Regions from separate parts of the Homo sapiens genome. Here regions 2, 3, 4, 5, 6 and 7 are each linked to region 1. The links are contacts of gene promoters, found by promoter capture Hi-C in blood cells and fetal thymus (Javierre and others, 2016). All regions are on one chromosome and are shown on one strand. Each heading gives the region's core, a stretch centred on a gene start or on the middle of the fragment in contact. The rest is flanking DNA. Distances are from core to core; before and after follow the strand shown. Region 1 holds the start of DPH6 (diphthamine biosynthesis 6). Region 2 has its middle 14 kb from the start of MEIS2. Region 3 overlaps MEIS2 (Meis homeobox 2). Region 4 overlaps AVEN (apoptosis and caspase activation inhibitor). Region 5 overlaps EMC7 (ER membrane protein complex subunit 7). Region 6 has its middle 37 kb from the start of MEIS2. Region 7 overlaps LOC145845 (a long non-coding RNA gene).

What was found. The method cuts DNA at HindIII sites, captures the fragments that hold promoters and counts their contacts. A CHiCAGO score of 5 or more calls a contact.
Region 2: a fragment that was not itself captured here is called in contact with the fragment with the promoter of DPH6 in region 1 in 4 of 17 cell types (fetal thymus, naive CD8 T cells, M1 macrophages and 1 more); the score reaches 7.8 in fetal thymus.
Region 3: a contact is called between a fragment that was not itself captured here and the fragment with the promoter of DPH6 in region 1, in 1 of 17 cell types (fetal thymus). The highest score is 5.3, in fetal thymus.
Region 4: a contact is called between a fragment that was not itself captured here and the fragment with the promoter of DPH6 in region 1, in 1 of 17 cell types (non-activated CD4 T cells). The highest score is 8.6, in non-activated CD4 T cells.
Region 5: a contact is called between a fragment that was not itself captured here and the fragment with the promoter of DPH6 in region 1, in 1 of 17 cell types (total CD8 T cells). The highest score is 8.7, in total CD8 T cells.
Region 6: a fragment that was not itself captured here is called in contact with the fragment with the promoter of DPH6 in region 1 in 2 of 17 cell types (M2 macrophages and M1 macrophages); the score reaches 7.3 in M2 macrophages.
Region 7: a contact is called between a fragment that was not itself captured here and the fragment with the promoter of DPH6 in region 1, in 1 of 17 cell types (fetal thymus). The highest score is 9.3, in fetal thymus.

The regions. Positions count from the first base shown.
Region 1 is chr15:35,544,403-35,547,755 of GRCh38, reverse strand. DPH6 (diphthamine biosynthesis 6) reads left to right here and starts at 1,591. Exons shown (of 9, transcript NM_080650.4): 1 at 1,591-1,637. The coding sequence starts at 1,615. DPH6-DT (DPH6 divergent transcript) reads right to left here and starts at 1,561. Exons shown (of 3, transcript NR_038251.1): 1 at 1,283-1,561. RefSeq lists silencers at 1,119-1,168, 1,469-1,608 and an enhancer at 1,656-2,590. The HindIII fragment of the contact is 1,793 bases long and covers 1,028-2,820 here.
Region 2 is chr15:37,113,003-37,115,936 of GRCh38, reverse strand. No RefSeq gene overlaps it. Among named protein-coding and RNA genes, the nearest start is that of MEIS2, 14 kb to the right of the region's middle. The HindIII fragment of the contact is 733 bases long and covers 1,195-1,927 here.
Region 3 is chr15:37,085,768-37,088,730 of GRCh38, reverse strand. The region is part of intron 6 of MEIS2 (Meis homeobox 2); the gene reads left to right. Among named protein-coding and RNA genes, the nearest start is that of MEIS2, 13 kb to the left of the region's middle. The HindIII fragment of the contact is 2,819 bases long and covers 40-2,858 here.
Region 4 is chr15:34,035,093-34,038,078 of GRCh38, reverse strand. All of the region lies in intron 1 of AVEN (apoptosis and caspase activation inhibitor), which reads left to right. The region is part of intron 1 of CHRM5 (cholinergic receptor muscarinic 5); the gene reads right to left. Among named protein-coding and RNA genes, the nearest start is that of AVEN, 2.6 kb to the left of the region's middle. The HindIII fragment of the contact is 1,225 bases long and covers 660-1,884 here.
Region 5 is chr15:34,097,626-34,100,874 of GRCh38, reverse strand. All of the region lies in intron 1 of EMC7 (ER membrane protein complex subunit 7), which reads left to right. Among named protein-coding and RNA genes, the nearest start is that of EMC7, 2.6 kb to the left of the region's middle. The HindIII fragment of the contact is 3,064 bases long and covers 386-3,249 here.
Region 6 is chr15:37,135,715-37,139,003 of GRCh38, reverse strand. No RefSeq gene overlaps it. Among named protein-coding and RNA genes, the nearest start is that of MEIS2, 37 kb to the right of the region's middle. The HindIII fragment of the contact is 2,801 bases long and covers 228-3,028 here.
Region 7 is chr15:36,874,859-36,877,957 of GRCh38, reverse strand. It overlaps LOC145845 (a long non-coding RNA gene), which reads left to right. Exons shown (of 7, transcript NR_024264.1): 5 at 1,502-1,598. Among named protein-coding and RNA genes, the nearest start is that of MIR8063, 96 kb to the left of the region's middle. RefSeq lists an enhancer at 1-284. The HindIII fragment of the contact is 1,140 bases long and covers 1,111-2,250 here.

The sequences.
Region 1 (3,353 bases), core at 342-2,841:
AGACTGCAAACTTCTTAAATACTTGACTCATTTGGTAAATATTCATAACTGCAAAATCTTAAAGCTGTATGATTCTAGACGCTAAAACTGATATGTAGACTGTCACTGCTCTAGTCACCCCTACTATTAGAGTTGAGAATGTCAAAATAAAATTGAATGCTTACTATGTACCTGGCATAATTTTAAGTTCCCTACATATATTAACTTACTTAATTCATGCCTTTGGCATCATCCCTCATGACTTTCTTTCTCTTGTATCCCATATCGAATTTGATTCTATTGGCTCTATCTTCAAAATAGAGCTGGAATCCTCTTACTTCTCACCAAATTCACCATGTTGATTCTAGGCTCCGCCATCTCTCTACTGGAACACTGTAACAGCTTCCTAATAGGTGGATTCTCAACACTGCAATCCTTTTAAAATTTTAAGTCACACCCTTCAAAAGTCTGCAATTACCTACAAGACCCTATATAATCCTTCCCCTCCATCACCTTAACCTGCTCTCCACTACTCTCTGCTTTGCTCAATCTGCTCCAGCAACACGGATCTGCCTTAATCTTCCACAAACACACAACGCACCTAGAGCCTTCGATTTTTTTTTCTTGTCTGGAGCACACCCCAATCATACACATAGCGAACTCTCCTTATTTAAATTGGCTCAACTCTCATCTTACCAATAAGGCCTACATAGACACGATTTAATTCTGCAATTTGCCTCTCCACCTCTCTCCTGACTCTCCCCCACCGCACCCCGCCCCTTTCCAATAGCACTTTTCACTCTTCAACAGACTATTTACCTTTAAGATATGTATTGTCTGTTCTCTCCATCCCCATTTAAGCTCTATGCCCGGAATGCCGGGTTTTTGTTTTATTTACGGTTGTATCCACAGAGTCTAAAACAGTGCCTGGTACACGAAAGGCACTCAATACATACTTGGCAAATAAACTTAGAAGCTAGATTTTCTTTCTGCAAGGCCATTGCTCTTTGGTGAAGAGCCTGGCCTGGCCTTGTCAAATACACAAGCTTGACCAAGAGCCAAAGCCACAGAGGGCCTAGAGGTGGGGGGGGCTAGCCCCAGATTTAAAAATTACCACAGCCCCTGGGGATCTGAGTTTCACATCTGGACACACAGGTTTGGAGGACAGAGGAGATGTAAGTTAAAAAGCAGAAGTGTACAGTTGTTTCTGTTCTGTGGGGTGAGGAAGGACAAATTTCTTCTGCGCTTGCACGTCCGCAACTGTGTCAATTTGCAGCAATTGGGACGCTAAATCCCCTCTTACCAAAACAAATCCTGCGCCACTGGGCTTGGGCTCTGCAACGCGGACCTTGCCCTTCCCCCGGCAGCTTCAGTGCCCTCACTTAGGTGGTTAGGCCGTGCCTAAACCTCATTCTTTCCTGGGCCGAGATGTCCCTGCCACAGGGTCAAGGTGCCAAGGTGCCGCACCCTCCGCGCTCAGGTGTCCCGCAGGCAGCCGCGGGGCTCGCAGCGCCGATCCGCGGACAGGCGGCGGAGCGAACACCCGGGCGAGGCCCCGCGGTGCGTCACGCGAGCTGCGGCGCGACCTCCTGGCTCCCGCCCGCGCTCGCCGCACGCACGCGCACTGCGCCCAGCATGAGGGTCGCGGCTCTGATCAGGTAATGCGGTCCTGGAGCCGCCTCCTTCCTCCTAGGCCAGGCTCTCGTCCCTTCCAGCCGCCGCTAGCGCCGAAAGAGTGGGTGTCTCCGTCTGAGTCGCGCGTTGGGGGTTCCGCGGCTCCTCCGAGCCACAGGAAGAGGCGGAGCCTTCGCTGTTGCCGGCCCGCATGTGCCTCGGCCCCTGGCTGGCGCGCCTCCTCCCTGTCTGTCGCTCTCTGGTCTTCTAGCCCTTAAACTTGGATTCCCATTGGATTCAAGTGGGAAATTAAAAAAAGTACCGACGCCTGGGCCCCACCGCCAGAGGGATTGGTTTAATTACTTCTGTGCGACCCGGCGTCTGATTTTTTTTTTTCAAGCTCTAATGAGCCGTGAAGTTTGGAGCCACTACCTTATTCCATCAACTCAGTTAATAACCCTCGCCCTTTCCCCCTCGCTTTCTTCGTCCTCTTCTGTAGTTCCTTTGGTCAGCTGGGTCCGCCGCAGCCTGGCTTCCTCCCTAGTTGTAAGTGTTTCCGCCCATCCCAAGAAGTCCACCCCTCCCTCATCTTCACAGATGTGGATTGCTTATGGCATGTGTGTGTTTCTGCCTTTGGGCACTCAAGTACAGAGATCTCTCTTCGTGGTAGAGACCGAATTGTACTAGTCTTATGCTAGATCCAGTTGCTGTTGCTTCGGACTCTCATCATTGCTTTAGAGTGACCTTACCCTATACTCCGTATTCCAAAAGGAGTTTGATGTCTGTAGTAACCAAATCATAAATTTAAGTGTCTAAATAAGTCCTGTGACTGACAAACCAAAAACAAACCTGCTTAAATATTTCCATACTCAATCTATAAACTGAGGCAGAAGGGAACACACTAGCAACATTAAAAAGTTAGACTACTTAAATACTTGTTTCATGAGATTTTGCCCTGTAGAGTGTCTTAGATACAGTGCAACGATGTGCTTGCTTTTGTAATCCAATTGAAGATTTCATAAACGTTTTCGTTAAGTCCCTTAGGTAATTGATACTGGCTGTAAGTTTTGACCTATTAAGGACTTGATATGAGATTTCAGACCTACTGTAGTGTCTGGAATATTCCGGTTCCCTTTCCTTCAATGTCATTTTTAGGAGACTAGACCATAATGTCACAATAATTATTGTTGTTCAGTAAATGTCCTCTGTAACATAAATGATTAAGCTTTAACCATTGTGTCTTATTTTAAGAATTAAAAGTACCCCAGGAAGTGAATAATTCAAATTTACATCGCTTGCCAAAAGTTTAACGATTAAAGTAAAGCACAACAAACAAAGACTTAGAAGTATTGGAGGGGAGGAGAGAAGATTGGTAGAGTCAGTTACACTAAATAACCTGTAATGTGCATATGTTGCTTTATAATAAAAAAAGTTTGCTAAAAAAGCAATGTTGGAAAATTCTTGCTGAAGCGTAAGAGCTGTAAGGACATATGCTGTAAGTATGAATACGTAAGCATTTACCTGTATGCTTATGATACAGATGCCTATGTATTCTATATATATGCATTATATATAATTATGTATTATAAGTGAATAAGTGAAACTGGGATTCTTACATATCTTTCTAAGAAGATTATTTTCCTTTTTTAAATTTTTTTTTTATTATACTTTAAGTTCTGGGTTACATGTGCAGAACGTGCAGTTTTTTTACATAGGTATACATGTGCCACGGTGGTTTGCTGCACCCATCAACCCATCAC
Region 2 (2,934 bases), core at 312-2,811, 1.6 Mb before region 1:
TAATCAAGAAACCAGAAAACACAATAAGGGCCACAAGGAAGAAAGAATCCTTTGTATTTAACAGAGGGTAATATAGTGGGTTTAAAAAAACTGAATCTCTACATTTGAGCTGTTGAAAGTAATTTTCAGTTCCACATTGTAGCCATAGATGTGGGTGGCTAAAACGGACATATACGTGTGCATACACACACACACGTGCACACACACACACAATGTGAGTGGGAATGGATTTGGGGATATGAGGTGGACAAGAAAACAGTGGACCAAGTGGGGATGATCAGGGTAAGTGGACAAGAGCAACCTGAATGAGAATTAGCCAAGATAATGTAATTTTGTAGTTTGAACTTCAACAAAGATTCACAAATATTTAGCAGCATTACCATGGTAAATTATACTTAGGCATCAATTAACGTTGAGAGAGAAATAACCAATTTTGTAAAGACTGTGTAAAAACAAATAACCTGCTTAAATTGTGTTCTATTTATTAGTATGTTCAATTGTATATGAATGCATCCTAGGTCCTAAAACAAATGGCCCTACTTCATGTTTCTTCTTCACAAATACGTTCCGACTTAGTTTTCAAACTGTATATCTATATCTCAAATAAGCCTGGTCCAATTCATTATACAAATAAGACACAATTGGTAAAGTACATGAATGAAATCTCTGAAGATGGCATTTTTCAAGTGAGTCTCTGTATAATATCACCTTTGAAGTTTATTCTACTTTTCTTATCATACACTCTAGTCACCAAGGGAAAATTTATTTAAATGTTTCTGTTTCCACATATACCTCAGCCAACCTCCTACAGTAAAAAGTAATGCAATATTGTATGTGCTTTTTTGGTTTTATTACTAATGTATATACTAATAAAAGCTAAATCTTAATTCATTAGTATCATTGATAATTTGGAAGAATATAGAAGGCTAAAATGTAATTGAAATGAAACACATGACTCTTGCAAAGACTTAGTTCTGACCTAAGAAAGCCTCTTCTACTCTCAATTCCCCGTACCCCACTCAATCTCTTTAAGTCTCCCATAGTAGCCTAGGTATATTTCTACTTTTGTTCATACCAAAATCTTTTTATACGCCTGCCTCTGTTTTCCTCTAAAAACCCATTGAAGCTGAGAATATATTTAATTAATCTTTATATGTCAACACTCATAAAAGCACCTAGAGAATATTGCAAGCTTAATGAATATCTATTTGAACGACTGAATGGATGTAGGAATTAGTGATTGAATATTTTCTATCCAGTTATTAATGCTATTACATTACAGAACATCTCTGGCTCAGGATTCAGTGTTCTGGTTCTATATGAGTTCACAGCAGAGTATTATATTTTAAAGAATTATAAAGCTCATACTTCTACACTGCTAATCCAAAAATCAGCCTTTATTTAAAAATTAATTTCAGTGTACCCTATATAGTCTTAAAACATTATTATGCCTCCTGATAAAACTTCAAATTATATGTTCATAAATTTGTTTTTAACCTGTCAAGCATACATTGCGCCCCCTGTTACATACCCATTTTATTGTTATTGAAATCACTGGATTCTAAATTGCAATGGCATTCCTTTATTTCAGCAGTAATTTAGCAGGGACAAGCCCAATGATACATGGAAAATGCTTATTACCTCCTACACCTCTGCCTCTAGCTCGTCTAACCCTTTTTCCAACATCTATGAAAATAAGAGTTCCCTCCTTTCTCATCTGTTTTGCTCAACAAGATGCAGAGGGAAGAACAATGAACTTCAAGCAGGCAGTTCAGGGATTTGGTCCCAGGATTGTTACTACCTTCAGTTAATTAGACTTTGAATGCTTCTCCTAACAGTTCTGAGTTTCCATTTCCTCCTATATAAAATGAAAGGGTTGCACAAAATGATAATTGTAAAAATAAATAAAAGCTCTATTTATTAAGCTTTTACTATATGCAAAGAACTGCACTATGTGCTTTACATGCATTATCTCATTTAATTTTAATCCTCTAAACACGTTTATAAGGTGTATCAGTCAAGGTCCAGCAGGAAACAGATGGTACACATCAAATTGGGTAATTTGAGGAGAGCTTAATAAAGGAACTTTATTAAAAAGGTGTGAGCAGGGTGTTAGGAAACCACGAGGGACAGTACACTGCCCCAAGGCTAGTACTGGAGAAGGACATTGTTACCTAAATCCAGAAATGGAACTCTGGGAAGAAGACTGCTTGAGCTGTGGCTGGAATGCAGCCAGCCCTCAGGGACCCTGGGAATCAGCACCCAGACCTCGCTCTGCCCACTCTAGGCAAGCCCAAGAGGAAACAAGGGCCATTCTAAAACCATCCGTACCAGCCTTCAGGGGCACAAACCAGGAGGGGGAAAGTAAAGGGTGGACCTGCAGGGGCTGACAAATGTGTCCAGTAATATCAACCATTGTTATGCTGAGTTTATGCATGAGGTTAGTAGAGTTTAGAGGAGTCAGGTGACTACTAAGAGTTCACAATCAGCACAGGCCAGACCTAGTATTCAGCCCCTTCCCGTCAGACTCCAGAGCCTGAGCTCTTGATGGCTTTTTAGCCCTTGGAGTCCCTTTTTGTCTTTCTAGGGTTAAAAACAGCCTCAGAAGTGATCTGATTCAACCCTCTCCCTTAGAGATGTTTGAATAAGATGTCTCTCCATTTAGGACATGAGCCTTGCAGAGACCTCAGTCGCCTTTGAAAAGCTAGTGGTCTGTGTGCTCATTCTTCCTGTTCCAATACTGTGGCTTGTATCCTGACATGTAATTTTGATTTGTAACCCTGAATGAGACACTTGTAGAGACAAAGTTGTCAGGCAGTCAAAAGGAGAGAATGGCATTTTTTACTATTAAAATTTTTTCTTTCTTCTGACATTCTCTCCTCATTAAGCAAACTTAAGGAATTTTCCATTGACGAAGAGTTGTCTAGTGAATAG
Region 3 (2,963 bases), core at 200-2,699, 1.5 Mb before region 1:
CACTTCTGTGAGAGTTGCTTACATATTAATCCCAAAGCTTAATAGAGAGGTAGAAGTGGGGAGGTGAGGGAAGGACCCCAGCTTTATTTACATTTTTAAAGAGTGAGTCCAGGTTCTGAAAGCACACATAGGTCTCCTGACTTCTTATGTCAACTTTACAACACCGGAGTTGAAATTCCAACATTTGTTCAAACCACACAATTAACATTTTTAACTTTTGTAGACTTCAGTACCCCAAGATAGGAGTCCTTGTTTTATTTTTAAAAATATTTTTTGCATAATGTTAATTAGGAGTTAAAACATTATAAAGTTATGGGAAATAAGTAATTTAATTATGTATGTTGATACAAGTATATCTTCCCTTTGTTGTTTAAATATATTGAGTCAAATTAGTTGTACATGCTTCATTTACTGATTAAAATATCTTTATGTATGTTTACTATTACTCTCTACCTATGAGCACATACCCTGAGTTACTTTATTCTATTTTCCAAGTTTACATGTAATTTTTCTCTTGATGTTATATAGTTGTGTAGGTTCTAGAAGTTATCTGGTCTAACTTCTTAATTTTAAAGAGATAAAGGAAATGAGCCCCATAGAAATGAGGTACATCACTTGCTTAAGTTCACCTGACTGGTGAGAGGTGGCATGCCAGCATCTTAATTCCAATCTAATGTTTTCTTTCCTATACCATGTCCACTGCATTGCCTTTTCATTTGGGATCTAAAATGAGTTTCAGATTATTTTAGATAGAACTTGTATGTGGCATGGCCTTTGCTTTTCTCCTTGAAGCCTCATACATTTTACTTCTCCATTCAGTTTTGTATTTATTTACAAACACTTTATACATTTCACCCCACTGGCCCCATGGAAGAACCATGTGCCATGTGGAATCATTTAAATAGGGAAATAACACCAATTCACCGAGACTTATTAAGTATTCTCTTATAGGTAGGTCCCTCATGGAAATGCCATAATGGTTTAAAATGTTACAATTCCAGTGTATCTGCAACTTCAACAAGAGAGGCACACATATGATTTGCTTCCTATGCCCAGAGACTCCTGTCCTCTCTATGCTCTTTTCTAGATTTAGCAAAATTCAATGATAGTGCTAAATCAATTTTTTTTTTTAACTTTCAAGGGAGAAAACACTGGCACAATTGTGTTTTCTAGGGAAAGCTGTGTGTAAATGAGAAACAGAGTAGAGCAGCAGAGCGCTCTCCTGTGGCCCCACTACTACAAGCTCTGCCCATATTGTCTCCTGCTTTTATATTAATTACAACTTGCATTATCAGCTGTGAGTCTGTAGCCCAGCAAATAGAAAATACTGCCCCTAGAGACCTAGCTTCTTGTATCTATTTTCCATCTCCTTCTATTGTGCTCCACTCAGTATTCACTGCTTTTCTCCTGGTAACACTGCTCTGTAACACAATTACGTAAGAGCAAGAAGAGTACCATATTTGACTCCCAATTACCAAAGCCACTGGGAATAGAAACATGTTCACTCCTTGCCCTCGGGTGTCTTCATGATTTTTTTGGCTGGAGAACAGGACATATATTGTGGCATGCATATACCTGAATGCTCAGTCATACACGGGCACCCGGCGAGCGTTTCTCTTTATTTTTCTACTTGCATCATGTGTTTTTACATGCTTTTGTATGTCACTTTGGTTTCAGGATTCACTAAACTTCTGCATATAATTTGGCAGAAAGCCATGCCATTTTTCTTGAAGGATGGAAACTTGTAAACTCTAAGGGGAAGAATAGAAGAAAGGAGTTGTGATATAAACAAATATTTTAATCTCAGGGAAAACAAATTGTTAAAAGTAATAGGTTTTGTCCATCCATGTCAGTGACAGTTTTTTATGACCAAGGAGGAACAATTTTTTGTTGACCAGATTATCAACATTTGTATTTGTATATGATCACATCACCACCTTGTGTAGCTCAATACAAACAACTTGTGGTAACTCCTCAGCCTTGAAACCCCAGAGGGATTTATCTGTTCTTCCTTCTTTCAAATCAGATGACTATCGTGTGATAGTCCTTAGTTGGTGTTCAGTCTCTCAAACAAGACCATAATACTTGAGACACTCTATGGGAAATAAACATGACACTTTTTCAGGAGAGCATTTTTAAAGAGTGAGAAAGAAAAGAGGGAAGAGATAAGGGAATGGTAGGTTAAAGAGTGAACTTAAGCATATTTTGGGAATGGGCAGAAAACCAAAGACCCAATTTATTTGGAAGAACCAGCTGCTCTTAAAAGTAATATTTGCTTCTGTGGCTTATTTTTCACCCCTTTACTTTAGAAAACATCTCCTTCAGATACCATTGAAAGAAATACACTGAATTATAAACGAATGAGGCCTAACTTGAAAACTCAGCACCAGTTTAGCTGATAGGGACAAACCAGTGTTTTCAGTTACAGGAAGTCCTTCTGAGTGATCCCTTCAAATCAATGCAGCACCTAAACAGAAAGACTTGCTCCGGCTTCATATAAACGATTATATAATAGCTATTGGATGACATTTGCCTTAAAACATAGTTGAGGTGTTAGTGGTTAATTATTATAATTTTCATGAGGGGTAAGGAGCTTTTATAGCAGCCAGCTTAATAAAAAGCCTGCAGTGCATAAAATTAACATCATTGCTGTGTACAATGAAAAGTTTAGCTTAGGTGAATATGTTGCAGCTATTGCATTTTCTAAAAGAAGCCTCTAGCCTGTGTTGTCGCAGGACTAAACTCACACCATGCTATTGCTTCTTTTTCTTTTCTTTCTTTTTTTTTCCATGTAATTCTTCTAGCTCTTTATCTCATTACCGCCCGGCAAACAGCTGACACGAAGAGGCTTCAAAGCTTGAGGAGCCCCTGTATTCTGTTTGCCTTTTGCTTGAAACTATTGGAGTGGTTTCTAACTTAGATTAAAAAGAGAGCTCACAGGCATGACTTTGTCTTTCTACAGG
Region 4 (2,986 bases), core at 23-2,522, 1.5 Mb after region 1:
TCTTATTGACACATTCATAGAAGGAAGTTTTTGGAGATTGGAGCAGGGGATGATATATATGGGGGCAAAGCTAACCATATCTCAGCTAAAGGAGTTAGAGGACTGTCTTTTTATGAGTTGTTCTGTTACCTTAACATCTGTAGGACAAGACCATCTTTATATTCTGCATTCTTATGCACACTGATTTAAAAAATTCTTTTTTGCATGAGGCAAAATTTGCTCTTACTGAAGTATTTACAATATCTTGAGGGCATAGCAGATAAGATATCCCTAAAGAGAGTAGTTGTATACAGCAATACAGAGCTGGAAAAAAAAGTATAAAACTTAAATTTAAATGTAACAAACTTAAATCTTGTTAGGATTAAGATAGGTAATAGGCAAAACTTGAATGAGATATAAAAACATTTTTAGGGTCAGTTTACCTCGTGTAAACTGACAGAAACTAAGGTAAATGACAGAAACTAAGACCAACCTAGTGCCCACTATATATCACATTTTGTTCTTATAACTCTATTATATATATATAATATATATGTAATGTAGAATTATGTAATATAATAGTATGTAATTATATATTAACTACAATGTTATATATTATTTATATATCCATATATAGAGAGTAATCTTTATTTTTACAGGTTAACTGACTTGCCTAAGCTTTCACAGCTAGTGGCAGAGCTGGGATTTATATCAAGCTGCCCTTGAGTCAACAGTATTTTATCTCTTACTTTTTCGTGAACCAGTTACCACTTTATTGAGAACAAAGTAGATATTCCTTAGCTGCAGGGATCGTGCTTTAAGAGTAATTGTAGTAATGGTACATTTGGTGTTAACTATGGTGTCTGGCGCACAGGACTTTACTAATAAGTGTCTTTAAGTTGAATTGAGTGAGTGAAGGTGCTTCTGTTTTGTTAATCTCTGTTGAATTAAATTGGGTGAAATGATGGTATATATTTTTTTTTTTTTTTTGAGACGGAGTTTTACTCTTGTTGCCCAGGCTGGAGTGCAATGGCATGATCTTGGCTTGCTGCAACCTCCGCCTCCCGGGTTCAAGTGATTCTCCTGCCTCAGCCTCCCAAGTAGCTGGGATTACAGGCATGAGCCACCTTGCCCGGCTAATTTTGTATTTTTAATAGAGATGGGGTTTCACCATGTTGGTCAGGCTGGTCTCGAACTCCTGACCTCAGGTGATCCACCCGCCTCGGCCTCCCAAGGTGCTGGGATATGGATTACAGGTGTGACCCACTGCGCCTGGTCATGATGGTATATCATTAAAAGAAAGAATAATACAAGACTTTAAAAAATTTAAGATAGTATTGTAACACATTCTGTTAAAATTTTAGGCTTTTTCTTTTGTCGAGTTGGTCTTATCCCTTCATCATCATGTTTTCAGCCAAAGCTGGAGGGAGGGATGTTGGGCAGATTGTTCCTTAATTTTGGTTTGGATTGGTCATCTCTAAGTTCCTTCCATTTCTCAGATTCTGAAGTACTGTTTGTATTTAGTCTTGCTAGGACACCATTTTTGGTGCTTAACCATTACATGAGACAAGATTGATTGACTTTCCTGAAGCCTTCTTGTTCTCATATCCCATGGTGCATTTGTGCCCCAAGGAGAGAGTAACCGAAATGATCAAAGGAAAAAAAAATCATAATAGACTCCTAGCCATGTAAAGACCAGTTGTCCACCTTCAGAAACCAATTTTGTGTACACCTTTGCTTTCTATTTTGGACCACTGCATACAAATGGAAAACAAAATCAATCTAACCAACTTCTACATAGCTATGTAATACTCCAGGGTAACTTAGTTGAGTACTAAGTTGAGTACATCTCTTAGTCTCTTGCTCTTAAATCATTCCTTCTGTAAATGGTCTGAGCTCTAAGCTTACTGATTATGGGTGAGCATAATTATCTTCACGGAATACTCACTAGAAGCATTATTGTACTAGATACAATCATTAACTTTAAAAAAAAAACACAAAACTGGCTGGGTGTGGTGGCTCGCGCTTGTAATCCCAGCACTTTGGGAGGCTGAGGTGGGTGGGTCACTTGAGTCTGGGAGTTCGAGACCAGACTGGGCAACATAACGAGACCCCCTCTCTATAAAAAAAATACAAAACTGCCGAGCATGGCGGGGTGCATCTGTAGTCCCTGCTACAAGGGAGGCTGAAGCAGCCGGATTGTTTTGAGCCCCGGAGGTGGAGGCTGCAGTGAGCTGTGATCCTGCCACTGCACTCCAGCCTGGGCAATAGAGTGAGACTCTGTCTCAAATAACTAACTTACTAACTAAATGAATAAATAATCCCCCTATCACTGCCCCCAATACTAGGATTGTTTAGTATTTATCTTTGTGATGGGCTGTTAGCAGAGAGGAAGACAAGGCCAGCTGGTAGTCTTTGGAATTTTTTTTCTTTTTTCCTTCCTCTAGTAATAACAGTAATTCACATTTGTCGAGTACTTAATATAAGATGAGACAGCTGAGGCACCGTTAAATAACTCACAGTTAGGAGAGGTGAAATAACTTTTTAATATCACTCAACCAGAAAATTGCTGAGCCTGGATTCCACCCCAGCATTTTCACTCCAGAGCCTGTTCTTTCGACTGCTGCTCTAAACTGCTCCTGGAATGACTTTGAGATTTGAAAAAGGGGTGTGTGGAGGACTGTTGAGTGATTCTTTCACATGCCTGATTATTTTTTTAACTGATATGTTAGTATGGTTATAAGGTTTTAAGGTAACATTGGTACCATCTTCAGTTATTGTGGGTGTTACCAGACCTTTGCTTTCTTGCTCCATGTTTATATTGCAGCTTTTCATATTCCTTTTAAAATGATTTATATTCAATAAAAGATGAGACAGCTGTTTATAGTTGTACTAAAAAGTAGAATCTGGAGGCATTTAATTCTGATCAAACTTTTGCTTTGTAAACAAAGCCTGAGTAGTAATTAATACCCGATGGCGTTGACATTTTCATTTCACTGGGTAAAAA
Region 5 (3,249 bases), core at 668-3,167, 1.4 Mb after region 1:
GTTAGCACTAGTTTTGCAGCAGCCTGCTTTTGAAATGTCTAGGCACGCGTATGTTGTTTTAAATCTTTCCACCCTTACTTGGAGGTGAAACTGTAAACTGAAAGCAAATAATTAGGAAGTATTTCCTTTGGTGGGTTCGTACACCAGCAAATGGTATCTGAAAATCAGACAACTTAAATGTAGACATTTAAATCCAAATCTGATTTACATATTTGTTCAGATCATCTAAGTGCCCTTGAGTGGTTATTCAACCTCAGATTAATAAATAGTGACAAATTTACAACCAGTATTTTACTGCTGTCTGTCATTAAGAATCTGGCATTAGGGCATTCGTTAGAGTTTACCCTAATTAATGATGTTTTAATGATAAAGTTCTCATTAAGCTTTAGGAATAAGCCTTAATTGACCATTTGGCCACTCTTCTGTATACAGTTCTTTTAAAAAGCATTTAATTTCTGTTTAAAAATAGTATATTAGAAACAAAGTAGGAAAACAACCCTTAATGTTTCATTGTATCTTTCTTTTTATTTTTTTGAGACAAGGTCTTTTTCTGTTACTCAGCCTGGAGTGCAGTGGCGAGATCATAGTTCATGGCAGCTTCGAACTTCTGTACTCAAGTGATCCTCCTGTCTCAGCCTCCTCAGTAGATAGGACTACAGGCGGACACCATCATGTCCAGCTAATTTTTTAATTTTTTGTAGAGACAGGGTCTTGCTATGTTGCCCAGTGTGGTCTCAAACTCCTGGCCTCAAGTGATATTTCTGCCTCAGCCTGTCACATTTTTGGGATTATAGGCGTGAGCCACGGTGCCTACCATTTTTCCAGCTTCTTTTGGAATCATATGACTTAGGTTTTTACTAGTAAAATACAACATGTAGTAGTTTGTATCCTGCCTTTTTCACTTAATATTTTTGAACAGCTTTTGATACCATTTCATGTTCTTTATTTGTATGTAGAAAGGTTGATGGAGAATTTCCAGGCGCGGTGGCTCATACCTGTAATCTTACTTTGGGAGGCTGAGGTGGAAGGATCGCTTGAGCCCAGGAGTTTCAGACCAGCTGGGGCAACATAGTGGGACCCCATTTCTACAAAAAATAAATAATTAGCCAGGAGTGGTGGTGTGCACCTGTAGTCCAAGCTACTCAGGAGGCTGAGGTGGGAGGATCACTTGAGCCGAGGCGGTTGAGGCTGTAGTGAGCTGTGATCATGCCATTGCGTTCCAGCCTGGGCTACAGAGCAAAACCCCGTCTCTCAGGAAAAAAAGAAACATTGATGGAGAATTAATATGAGGAGTTTATGGTGATAATCTTATTGGAAAAGGGGTAGGTAATTTGTATTGTAGCTGTTTTGCATAACTAGCACACAGTTTTGACTTACATTTGTGCTTATTGGAGGTGGCTTAGGACTTAGTTAATGGAGATAAAGGGAATTGGGCCTGAAGACTCCTCATGCCATTTCTTGCTATCATCACAATGTATATAAGCCATAATTTATTTAACCAGTCCTCTGTTTTTGGACAGGTGGTTTTCATGTGTTTTTGTTTGTTTGTTTGTTTACATAGTAATATTATATTCTATACTTTTTTGCACTTTTTATTATAGAAATTTTCAAACATTTATAGAATGGCATTCTACTGTTTTGTTTCATGTCTTTTGTGTACCTCATTAATTTTTTTCTGAAATATTTTTAAATGGTTCTAAGCATAATAGGATTTTACTTGTAAAAGCATTATTATGTATCTCCAAAAAATAAGGACTTAAACAAAAACCACATTACCATTATTGATTCAACAAAATAATCATGCCTTAATATCATCTAACAGTCCCATTTTTATGTTTCCTCAGTTTTCTCAAAAATATTTTTTATATAATTGTTCTTTCAAATCAGGATCCAATAAGGCCTACATTTTGTAGAGTACATTTTTAAGGATGAATTTTAAATTTTGTATTGCAAACTTTATGTTATTTTTCTCAAGTAAAATATTTACCTTAGGATGATAAATATATTTGCTTTTTCTTTAATTATTTCTGATATTATTTGTGTTCCACTGTCATCAGTTTGTTTTTTTCTGGATCTGAAAAAATGTTTTGAAATTGGTTGAGTCAGGGCTGGGTACGGTGGCTCATACCTGTAATCCTAGCACTTTGGGAGGCCGAGGCAGGCGGATCACCAGAGGTCAGGAGTTCGAGACCAGCCTGGCCAACATGGAAAAACCCCATCTCTACTAAAAATACAAAAAAAAAAAAAAAAAATCAGCCAGGCATACTGGCGGTAGTCTGTAATCCCAGCTACTAGGGAGGCTGAGGCGGGAGAATCACTTAAACCCAGGAGGCGGAGGTTGCAGTGAGCAGAGATCACCTCACTGCACTCCATCCTGGGTGACAGAGTGAGACTCTGTCTCAAAAAAAAAAAAAAAAGAAAGAAAGAAATTGGTTCAGTCAGGGTCCCATTAAGAAGTAGAAGATGCACTCAAATTAGAGTAATTCAAGGATAATTTAATGAAGGCATCAAACAGTGTAGTCATGGTGTTGGGAAACAGCCAGATTGTGCAGTACCCTGGAGCTTACATCCTCAAGGTTATTATCACCACCTCTAATCCTGAAGGAAGAGGAGAGTAGAGGTTACTGGAACCTTGAAGGGAAGAAAGGCCTGCATTGAAAGACACAAACCAGTCCCTTAACACAGCCAGTCAGAGGTGGCCTGTCAGTGAGAGGTCTGGGGGGAAAATAGACTAAGCTCATTTTCTTTCCTTCCTCCAGTCTGCAAAGAGGAGAAAGGTAGAGAGTGGATCTAGAGGGCAAATGGAACATGTCCAGGCCAGGCATAAGTTAACTTTTTTACATTTCAATTCTGGCTTAGTGTGCTCTGGAGTGACACTTTTTCATCTTACTTTTTTTTTTTTTTTTGAGACGGAGTCTCGATCTGTCACCCAGGCTGGAGTGCAATGGCACAATCTCGGCTCATTGCAACTTCCGCCTCCCAGGTTCAAGTGATTCTCCTGCCCCAGCCTCCTGAGTAGCTGGGACTACACGCGCATGCCACCACACCCAGCTAATTTTTGTATTTTTAGTAGAGACAGGGTTTCACCGTATTAGTCAGGATGGTCTCGTCATCTTGCTTTTTAGTAACTGTTGTGGATATCATCAGTATCAGTTATTCCTTTAACTATGAAAGAGCCTATGAGGATTTAAGAAGCATTATTTTAATATATTATTATGATATCGGGAATTCTCTGATACAGTTGGTCAT
Region 6 (3,289 bases), core at 379-2,878, 1.6 Mb before region 1:
AAGGGAGGTGTGATTGGGGGAGATCAGAGTCGAAACAGTCCCAGCAGTTATAACTGATATGGTGACAGTGGTTTAATTTGGCAAAGTTTACAAAAGCGTATGACCATGGGAACACATTAATTGAGCTCCTCCCCGTGGAAGTCGTACATACAAGTGTGGGGGAAGTGTAAAGCTCCATTAGCTTCATGGTGAACCTGTCTCCAATGCTGTGGTTAAAACCACAAGCTTTGAGGTTAGACACTCAAGGTTTCAGTCCCTTCCTACTTGTATGATATTCAGTAATTCAGGAAGCCTATCTAAGCCTCAGTGTCCTCACTTATAAAATGGATATGATAAAACTTGGCCAGGTGCGGTGGCTCAGGCCTGTAATCCCAGCACTTTGGGAGGCCAAGGCAGGTGGATCACCTGAGGTCAAGAGTTTGAGACCAGCCTGGCCAACATAGCAAAACCCCGTCTCTCCCAAAAATACAAAAAAACTGGCTGGGCGTGGTGGTGGGTACCTGTAATCCCAGCTACTCGGGAGGCTGAGGCAGGAGAATCACTTGAACCTGAGAGACAGAGGCTGCAGTTAGCCAAGATTGTGCCACTGCACTCCAGCCTGGGAGACAGAGCAAGACTCCATCTCAAAAATAAAATAAAATAAAATAAAATTGATACGATAAACCTTGCCTTATATGATTGTTGTAGAGTTTAAATGAAAATTTATGTATGCAAACTTCATATTCTAAGGACTCAATAGTAGATAACTATGTTTATTAAGGTAGTAAGTGCTCAGAATTTGTCACCCTTTATAAGATAACCAAATACTCTGCACTATTACTTAAAGTAAACCTTTGGTTTCTAACACCTACAATTCTACACCAGTTTATTTATCTTAATCTCCTATCCAAAAACACACTTAGCCTTCTCTCATTTTCTAATTCAAAGCCTTTATGTCATTCAAGACTCAGCTGAGACCTCATCTGTTTTTCTAGTATTTCGTATTTTTCAGCACTTGTTTCTGGGTCCATTCTCTGAAGGTCTATAGCAACACTATCCAAAAGAAATAGAATGTGAGCCGCATCTGTAATTTTTAATTTTATGTAGCCAGGTTAAAAAATTAAAGCCAAGTCAAATCGATCTCATTAATAGTTTTATCTAACCCAATATATCCAAAATATTATTTCAACATGTAATCAACATTTTTAAATTACTAATGAGATATTTTACGTTCCCATTCCATACTAAGTATCTGAACACTGTGTGTATACTTTACACTTACAACACTTTAAATTCACAATAATCACATTTCAAGGACTCAATAGCAATGTGTCTAGTGGGAGCCATACTGTACAGCACATGTCTATAGCATGAATAGTTTATATCATACTATTTAATCAGCATTCAGTAAAGGTTTGCTGATCCATAGTTTGGATGCATTTAGTCATCAAAAAAGGAAAATGCAACAGGCAATGTGATTTTCTTTCACTTATGCTACTTTTTGCCTTCAGTGAATGGTGCTTATCCCAGAATGAAAACTCTTGAGTATGTGGAATAATGCCAGTTGCAGACTAGTATTAATATGTCTGCTCTGGCATTCTTGTGAATAATACAAGAGTTAAGCAAGGAGACTTGTATGTGGTAATGCCTTGCGTATAGAATAAACCATCAGACTGAGGTGCTTCTAGATATGAATGGAGACCAATATAATCTCACCACCACGTCTAAAAGTGGGGCTCCAGTTTTAAATGTTCACTTACCAGTAATCAAAAATTAGTTTGACTGTTGATTCACAACTGTCTTATTAAAGTAGAGGTTGCTTTCAAAACACAACCAGGGAAGTCACACCCAAGGCATATCACATCTTGTGTGCTACAAAATACCCAGGTCTTTCTACAAACCTTTTAAACTCTGACATGACAAATAATTTATAATTTTTCTACCCTGAATATTTTTCAAAGTTTAGATACTAATCAACTCACATGGCATAAATATACAAGACTTTCAGACCATATAAACCCACATTGCATTAATATTCCAGATTCAAGTAGACACTGGATTTCCAAACATGGTTTTTGTTTCTTATAGGCATGTAAGAAAACATAGTTTACAATATGGAAAATTTTCAAGGTACACTGAAAATAGCAGAAATTTTTAAAATGTATGACTCATCCAGTGAATCACTGAATGTTCAAGGAAAATTTATCTTGGTGTTTTATAGTTATTAGCTTTTTTAAAAAAAAGTTAAAATATATTCTGATTATCAGGCTGACAACAAGCAATACTTTTCATATTATATTACGTTATTTGACTGAAAATGTGTTTCATCTTATTTCTTTTCCGGTATGTAATAAAGTACAACATTCACAAAGCTCACTAATGTCTGTTCTTGTATTGAAAAACTACTTCCCAAACATATTCCCCTCAAACATATCCCACAAAATACATTCACAAACACAGTAAAGGCAACTTCAATTACTTCTCAATGTTGGAGCATTTTATTTTTTAATTTTTAGCTTTCTTATCAAAATCTTAACAAAAGACTTGAGCAAATTCTATTTTCTCCATCAAACCTTCTTGAGCAGAGACTCCGCTTCTTTCTCTGAATTCCTGTGTGAATACAAACTTGGCATCCGTTGTAATCTTCCCTTTGTTATGCTTACTTTTCTATGTACCTAAATCCTAGCTCTACAATACAGTTCTAAGTTTCTTGAAGCCATAGGCCCTGTCTTATTCGTCTCCTGTGGCTCTCAGCAGAGACTTGGATAGAATAAACATTAAATAAATGTGCTAGAAATCATGACGATTTTGATCATAGTTTACAGGAATATCGTTCAGCAGACCAATGACATGATATAGCAATGTCAGCCATTATAAATGCACAGGAATATTTTCATATTTCTATCTTTTCCAATTCGACTTTTTGGCCATCTTTTTTAATAAAAGTTCTTAGTGTCTCATTGGCATTTTCATTCCAAAAACTCAAGTTGAATTTAAATTAAAATAAAACCCTAAAACGTCTAATTATGTTCTAGCATCAAACAAAGCTTTTTCTCCCTTACAGTTATATTTTAAATGTTTTCTTAGTGTCTAACCATAGTTAAGATTCCAGTTTACAAATATACATCTACTGTGGGTTTTTTTTTTTTTTTTTTTTACAAATTTAATAATATCCTAAAGCCTAATTTTGTGTATTGGATTCATTTAAAATGTGGTTGCTACTCAACAATTTTGGAGGAAAGTATATTACATCAGATGTAACATTTAAACTAAATCCAGAAGTTAAAACTCTCTATAAATAAGAGAAACA
Region 7 (3,099 bases), core at 431-2,930, 1.3 Mb before region 1:
GTGACAGAGCCAGTCTCTCTCCTCTCTCCCCTCTCCCCTCTCTCTCTTTCTCTCCCACTGCGCCTCTGCCATTCCTAGATCTCTCTTCCCATGCCTTCGGAGGACACACCTGCAGGAGCTGCTGAGTTGTTTTGGTGACCCGGGAGATCAATAGCAAGGACCCAGAAACACCCACAAGCTCTAAGTGGGTCTAATTTTGCTTTTGAAAAGTAGTAGGAGAGGAAAGAGACTTTATTACCTAACCGTGAGTTTTCCAAGATGATCCCCCTCAGCCAAGCAAAGTTGAGAAGGGTTCGACAGAGGGTGAGGACAAGATAGTTCCCTCTTAGCCCCCTCCACACCTCTACAAGAAACCTGGACGGAGCTCCCCCACCAGCTGAGAACTCCTTGTAAAGGCGCCTTGGGGTCCCCACCTGTGCCACTTACCCAGATCACCACGGCCTCTAGGATCTCAGACCATTCTCATCCCGGAAGCCGCTGACTAGACCAGGTCGGGGAAACACTAGGAGGCCCAGTCAGTCAGTATTGCTTCTCTCTCTCTCATTTACCCTCCTCTTTTAAAGGTCAGCGGAGGAAAGCAGTTTTTCTTTTTCCTTCTTTCTTTCTTTCTTTCTTTTCTTTTCTTTTCTTTTTTTTTTTTTTTTTTTTGCAGTAAATCACATGTGTAATTGCATTCACATAGAATTAAGAAGTAAAATATATCTTTTGTGCAAATGCACTTAGACATGTTTAAAGAGGGACTGCCCTGAACACAGTCGGTTTTTAAAGAATGAAACAATTAAATACAAGCTTTAAAGATAAAGAATATGAAGAGTGCCCAGTATCCCCTTCCATTGCCTTTACATAAATTAGGTGGGTCTCAGGAATAGCTCAAGTATCAACAGTTCTTAAAGCTAACTAACCAATACACAAAAATAACAGATAATCACATCTTTAAAGTAAGTTACCCTCAAAGAAGTTAGAAGTGAATACCTAACTGCAGAGTTAAGCTTTTCCTGCTTCTTTATTTATCCAGGTCTCTTAATTTTAAAACAGATTAAATAATCTGCTCAAAAGGGTTGATATTGCCCACCAAAACAGAGTGAAGACCGTTGTTCATACTTTGAAGCTTATCCATGAGCCTTGGGACTTTTTGAATGTTTAAATGAAGTGTAAATAGATTAAGGTCACAGGTGATTGACAAGATCAAGCTGCTTAACTCAATTATCAAACTTTTATTTCAAAATTATGTTCAATTTGATTCTCCTGCTTTGCTATAAAAGATCTTAGAAAATCCAATAGGAGCAGACAATTTACATTGTGTCGTATGTACTGTGATTTATTTGTAAAATTATTTTGTGATATATATATACCTCCTTTAATGTTTTTGAGGAAACCATGTCTTTCCAATTAGATTTAGGAACACAGCTATCATACTAATTCAAAGGCAGTTACTTTGAAGACTCAAAGATCAGCAAATTTTAACAATTTTCTAAAATATGTCTAAATTTCTAAACTGCAGGCAGAAACTGCAGGCTGTTCAGAATCCAATTCTCTGGATATTGGCATGCTACATTCAATGTCCAGCTACATTAAGTGTCCATCTATCAAAATACTAGGTAAGAGTGCAATTTGTAAATATATATCCTACAACTCTTTTCTAACATAATATCTCAACGTTCTCCTATGCATTATTTAATAGATAACCAAACTCTTCAGATTAAGGCTCATGCTGCCACATCTGGAAATGCTTCCTTTGCATTACCCATCACCACCTCCTCACCTCGCCCCAGCCACCAGTGAGAGAAATAGCTGAAGCCTCCCCTTCCACCATTATATGATAGCATCAGCTTTTAATCAGTGAGAGGCACTCCTATTTAAATTTACAGGATGACTCTTTATTTCATTTATCTTTTCTTTTGGAGGAAAGTGAAACAAGAGCACCACCCTTATTAATTATAAGATTGATGAGGTGAAAAAAGCCAAATGAATTTGGCTTGCAAATTATTAGTCTAGGTATGAATATTTATGACTGTGCCAGGAACTGCAGTCATGAACCCTGGGTATCAGGCATGGGAGAGAGTCAGCCCAGTGCATTCAATGAGGGTTCAGTCTCCCCAAATCTGACATGACATAAATGGAAACTTTGAAATTAGACCCAGGGTGGGCTCCCATTAAATCAGTTTATTTTCTTTCTTTTTCTTTTCTTTTTCTTTTTTTGGCTAGTCTTGCTAAACATGAACTTGCTTCCAGTGGCTTCCTTCATAAGCTTTAAAAACCTTTTAAAGTGAAGGAAGACACTTATAGATTTTGTGAAGAAAACTTTTATTTTCCCGACTTGATATTCACTTATGTTTCAAAGCAAGTTTTTCTGTAAAATATTTGTGACATGCATTTAACATTTTTTAAACTATTTTTATTCCGTTTAAAAATATTGGAAACCTAAAATATCCTGGGTATAGGAAGGATTTAAATAGACACAATTGAAGTTCGATGCAGAGAGAAATGAGAGGGAAAAGAAAGCAGCAATGGGAGAGATGAAAAGACAAGTTTTCTATTTATTTGCTTGTTTTCCTTTTTATGCACCACACTTACTCATGCTTTTTCATCCCAAAGTGAGGAAATTTAAATGAAAGGTGGAGGCAGAAAGCATCAAGGTAGAAAGGAAAGGGTCAAAACAAGGATTTAATAATTTAGTTAAAGACAAACTATATTCTCTTCTTTTCCTCCTCGTGATTATACATGTAAGAGTTTTGTAGTGCTTTGGAAAAGACGCTGGGGGTTTGAGATTTAACGAGCTCAAATACTGCCTCATCACCGGCTTCTTTTCTGTAAAAGAAATGTTGAGTGGGAGCTGACCCAATCCTGTGAAAATGGTTCATTCTGACATCAGAGCCAGCTTCGCACATACATTTTGAAAAGGAAGACAAGTTGTTTTCAAAACAGAAATGCTAAGCATTCTAAAAAGCATAAGCAATTTAAAAAATGCTCCTCAAATTTTCTGAAAAACTCCCAACTACATATATATATATATTTCACAATTGTAAGTGGATATTTGTGCTAAATTGATGCTTTATGTATATCCTGTCTCAATTTGTCTGTTCACTGTAAAGATATAAT